2 separate regions of the Homo sapiens genome follow, and region 1 is linked to region 2. The links are contacts of gene promoters, found by promoter capture Hi-C in human tissues and cell types (Jung and others, 2019). All regions are on one chromosome and are shown on one strand. Each heading gives the region's core, a stretch centred on a gene start or on the middle of the fragment in contact. The rest is flanking DNA. Distances are from core to core; before and after follow the strand shown.

Region 1 (2,700 bases), core at 199-2,698, 51 kb before region 2:
ACATTTATCAATATAAATCAAATTACTTTATGCCATTTTATGTAATCTTGATTTAACATTGTGTGATATTCTGTTTATACTATATACTTTAATATATACTACATTGTCACTTATATGCTAGGAATAGTGTTCCTGCATTCAGTTAACTGTGTATCTCTTGATTGTGGTAGTGGTTTCCGTCTCTATACACACGTCAAAACTTATCTAATTGTGCATTTTAAATATGTAAAGCTTACTGAATACCCCAGCAAAGTTGCTTGTCATGTGTACACATACACACACCTTTTGGTAGTTAAAATAGCTGCCGTCTTCAGGAAGTACACTTTTATTTGGTGTGGTTTGGCTTTGGTTTTTGTTCTTGGTTTTGGTCTTTGCCTATGTGTCGGTTTTCTCAAAATGTGTAAGTATTTCCTTTGAGTAGAGCAGTCATCCACAGTCACTAGTGTGAATCCTGCAGCTTATCATCTGTTGGGCCCATAGAAGCTGGCCTTTGTTTAGTATCAGCATGGGCTGTGTTTCTGCCTTACCTTTATTTCTAAGTTACAAGCACTAGGAATGTTGTCACGGTTTTAGATCTAGTGACACAGCTCTAAATAATTTGAGTATTTCTAGAAAAGGAATTCATCCCATGTGATCATAACTCGTTTTTATCTTTTTAAAAATAACTTTTATTTTCTTTTGATTTTAAAGTTTTGCTAAAGATTTTAAGAGAAGATTATTTAACTATTATAACCCAAAGGAATAGACCCAGGTGCATACTATTTTTTTTATTCAGTGTCTTGATATGATTGGTTATAGAAGAGACCCTCCTAAAATATGTTCTCTAACTGGCATCATTAGAAGAAAAAGCCTTTCTACAGAATGCTGACTTCTCAACAGGATTTTTCCATGTCGTTGCAGTTAGCTGTAAGGCATAACCTGAAAAATACTTTAACTTATTCTCAACAATTTTCTGTTTATAGATGTCGAGAAATTTTTAAGGCATAAAATCTAACTACAAGTGGATTACTAACATTAATTAATACCCTGATCTGTGGACAGATTGCCTATAATAATGTATGTGACTGCCTGGCTAACCTAGTCTGATTAAAAATTAACCTAAATTGACAACATAAACTTATGTTAGAGAGTGTTGGACTTTTTTTCCCTCCAAGTGAACTTTAGCCCTGGTGAAAGGTTCCCTGCAGCAGAAAATTCATTGAGCATGTAAAGCTTGTTGGCATTTTTTTGTTTATTCCCATGGATTTTTGGATTTTTTTTTTTTTTTTTGAGGAGAGTAAGGTTCCAGTATTCGTATCTGTTCTTTAAGCTTCTTGAATTTGCCATAACGTGTTTCCAGGACTCCAAAGTAAAAAATAAACAATCCTAGCAGTGGAACTATGGGTGCCTTCCATTTGGTGGTGGTGAGATAGAAAGCGCCTGTTCCACTCCCCCTTCATCACCTCCAAATGCTGTGTCTGGCCTATCTAAATATTGTATTAGGAATCTGTTTTGTGACTGCAAATATTTAGGTTCTTAATAGTCAAATCAAGATTATTAAGATAGTTCATGTGGACCTCTAAAGAAAACTACTTTTGGTTTCGGCTCACATGGGCCAATTTCTGACGTGTATTCCGAAAGACACAAATTTTTGTCCCAATCTTTTAGGTGGCCTGTGAATGCCTAAACCATGTCACTTTTCCACAGAAGTTTCATGTATGAGTCTGTTTTCAAATAGTATATGTATCCTGAAATTAGTAGCAGCATTATACCTTTACATTTCATAATCACACTTTTCGTTATTTTAGTCATTAAAATTGTTCATACTTTTAAAATATATATACTAAAAGTTTGTTTTGTATTTGCCAAACATTCTTCATGTATGTCCTTTGAGTGAGGCAGGAAAGTTATCCACCATCATCCCCAAAAGCATGTGAAAAAGTGCAAAGTGCCCTCCTCCTTTCTCTCCCTCTCCCAACCTGTATTTCCTGAGTAAGCATCATACTTCCCAAGACATCCTAGATTTGATAAACTCTGAAAAGCAGCATTTCCTTTGTGGAGAAGTGGGATTATAGTTGGATTTTTAAAGGACTGTGGAACATATTTAACCACCAAATACCACTTGGCATAATATGCTGCCACCCTAAAGAGACCACATCAACAAAACCCGTGTTCGTTTCAGAAGTATGCTTTAGATATATTTACATTCACTTATCTAAATCTAAATTCTGTAGTTTTAAAATATCACATAATTTTGAGTTACCAGGAAGTTAGTAGTTGTACAGTAACTGGTCCTATAAAGATAATAAATTTTTATCATTAATTTGATTTTATGTGATAAAATAGATATCAAAAATTTATTTCCTGCTAACAAAATTTTCCTTTCATATTCACTGGGAAAAGCACCTTTCCAAAGACCTTTTAAGTTGAAATTAAATATTATATTTTCTGGGAAGTCAAATTTGTTATGCATGAAACAAGGAAGAGGAGTTAACCTCTGTTCCCAAAAAGCGGAACAGAACTTTCTGACAACTGCTTTGTTCCAGTGAAATGTCGGCATTTCTTACTCTGTGAGGTAATTCTATCTTCAGTCCAACAGGAGACTCTTTGTGCTGTCTTTACTAAATGGAAAGGAATGCCTGTGCTGGCCCCTGCACACGCGTGTGTCAGTCAGTCAGCACAGATGTACGTGGGGGAGGCATCCACACATGTCCTCAGAAG
Region 2 (2,700 bases), core at 41-2,540:
TTACACACAGATGCACACATACAGAGACACGCATACAGACACACAGACACACACACAGATGCACACACAGACGTACACGTATATTATTTGCAGCCGAAGAGAGGCAGGCTGCGTGCAGAGGCTGGCAGCTGGGCTCCGTCTGTCCATGCGAGGCGCCCGCTCCTGTTTGTGCGGGACACGTGCCCAGGTCCTCACCAGCAGCTCAGGCAGAACCTGGAGCCACAGACACCGCCCAGCACCATCCTCACACATCCTCTGCCCACCTGCCCTCTGCTCCGCGTCAGGGGAGGCAGGAGCTGCCCCTGGGGCCTGCTCCAGGCAGTTCTGCCACCGCAGGTGAGAGGGGTGGGCTGGAAGGAACCCTGGAAGCAGGTGGGGGCCCTCGGAGGCAGCCGCCCCACAAACACCAAGCACACATGGAACTCGGCAGTCCTTTATTTAGATCAATGCGGGGCTGAGGGGCCCTCATTCCACTGCAGGGCAAAGGGGGACCAGGCCCAAGGAGGCCTCCTTCTGCCCAAGGTCTGGAGGCAGAGAGGGGCTCGCAGGCGGCCCGAGGGCGCCGCATCCAGGCCCCGGAGCGCAAAGCCTTCCTCCCAGGGGGAGGCAGTTTCCCATCCACCGACCAGGTTTCCCCGGAGAGTCCCAGCACAAAAGCAGCAGCGGGCGGTGGCCCTGAAGGCTCAGAGCGCAGCCAGGGGGACACAGGCGGGGAGCCTCACTCCTGGGCGAGCATCCTCGCGAACTCCTCGTAGTTCACCCGCCCGTCCTGGTCCACGTCGGCCTCGCGGATCATGGCGTCCAGCTCCTCCTGCGGCAGCGGCTGCCCCAGCCCCGCCATGGCCCGCCTGAGCTCGTCCACGGTGATGTGGCCGTCGCCATCCTGGTCGAAGGCGCGGAAGGCGACCTGCAGGTCCTCCAGGCCGGCCCTGGCCTTCTTCGCCGCCGTCAGGAACTCCTGGAAGCTGATTTCGCCGTCGCCGTCGCTGTCAACCTCGGAGATGAGTTTCCTTAGCTGGGCCTCCGAGAGGTTCTTGCCCGTGGCCTTCAGCGCCGCGCCCAGCTCCTGGGCATTGATGGTGCCGTTTCCATCCGTGTCAACCGCGGAGAAAGCCTTTTTGTACTGGGCCTCCTCCTCAGGAGTCAGCTCACCGGCCATGCCTGCGTCTCCTGCACCTCGCGGAGCCTCCGAGCTGCTGCCCACCGGCCCTCAACCTGCTGCTCTCAGAGCTCGTGGTCCAGAGTGCAGGCAGCCGCAGGGATCCGGGCAGCGTCTGTCCCAGACAGTTCTGCCTTGGCATGGGAACCCCCTCCTTTTCTGCAATCGGAACAAAGGGAGGAGGGAGGCTCCCCACCCTCCAAATGCCCTGGGGTGAGAGCCTCCTCCCAGGGAGGGCCAGATCAGCTGCAGACAGGAAATGCAGGAATGGGAGTTGGGAGAGCTGTCAGGTGCCAGGTGGGAACTGCCATGGGGTCGGGGTATCGGATGGCTAGCCTGCCAACCCCGCCTGGCCTTGATAGCAACCACCTCCCTCCAGGAACATTCTGCCCAAGGGATAGTTTCCCCTGCAGCTGATTCTCGGAGATCCTGACCAAGCCAAGGGGTTCAAGACAGCTTCTGCAACTTCACAAAGACTGAGACTGGAGGGGGAGGTGGCTTGAAGAGGGCTCCCTCAAGGGCACAGCAGGCCCCAGTGTTTGGTGTTTCCGTACCCCTCTCTCCAGTGCTACTGCCTAGCTCTTGCCCTGAGGCTGGGGCTGGTGGAAGGGAAGTGGGTGGTAGTGTTGATTCTGCCAGGGCACAACTGTGGGTATCATGAGATTCCCAGGCCAGGGTCTAGAGACAGAGGATGGGGCTCACTGCCTATAACTTCAAGGAAGCAAGGGACCAGGGCTGCCTTCAGAGCCATAGCTGGTGCTGAGATGGTGTTTATCAAGTGAACATGTGACGTGCAGTTTCAGAGGAGAGGGAAAGACTTTTTGTCTCCCCAGAATACTCCCTTCTAGCTCAGGGATTCCTACAATTCAATTCCATCGCCAAGTCCAAGGTTCCCTGTGCAGACACCCTGGGAGCTCAGTGGCAGGCGTTCCATTCACAGGGCGTCAAACAGTTACAGCTGGAGTTTTGCTGCAGCGAGACACGGGGGACCTCAGTGCCCAGCATACCCCAAAGGTGCAGGCAGAGGTGCAGGAGGATGCAGAACAGGTGGCTGCCATCAAACTTGGCCCTCCTTGTGGTTTTACTAAGCATCAGCCCTAAGCACAGAGACCCATCTGGGAGCCTACTGGGGTCCTCAATCTGATCTGTTCTCTGGAAGGAAACCCCCAGGGCCACTTGCCTTGACCAACTTTTAGAGCAACAGCTAAGCTTTCGGGGGACCATCCCCAAGTCCTTCCACTGATGTGATCTACAGTTGTGAGGGGACATTTGCCTTGGAGTCCCCAAAATGCCTTTCCCAAGCAAGTCCCCTCTGATCTCCATAGATTCCCATTCTTCTCCCCAGCCCCTGCCCGTACACAGGGAACAAACTCCTTTATTCCCCTGGGAAAGTTTATACATTCCACCTCCCTCCTGTTCAGCCCATCAAATAGACCAAGTGCCCTCTCCTTCCCTAAAGTGCAGCCAGACAAACACCTCCCAGCCCCTTGGTGCTGCACACATTCTCCAAGGGAAGCCGGAGGCTGGGGTGCCCAACCACG

What was found. Contacts are between HindIII fragments. The study calls those that stand out against the background at their distance.
Region 1: a contact is called between a fragment that was not itself captured here and the fragment with the promoter of CALML5 in region 2, in 9 of the 25 tissues and cell types used here (H1 embryonic stem cells, IMR-90 fibroblasts, bladder and 6 more).

The regions. Positions count from the first base shown.
Region 1 is chr10:5,447,421-5,450,120 of GRCh38, forward strand. All of the region lies in intron 3 of NET1 (neuroepithelial cell transforming 1), which reads left to right. Among named protein-coding and RNA genes, the nearest start is that of NET1, 36 kb to the left of the region's middle. The HindIII fragment of the contact is 5,840 bases long and covers 1-2,700 here.
Region 2 is chr10:5,498,280-5,500,979 of GRCh38, forward strand. CALML5 (calmodulin like 5) reads right to left here and starts at 1,291. Exons shown (of 1, transcript NM_017422.5): 1 at 418-1,291. The coding sequence starts at 1,159. The coding sequence ends at 719. The HindIII fragment of the contact is 7,245 bases long and covers 1-2,700 here.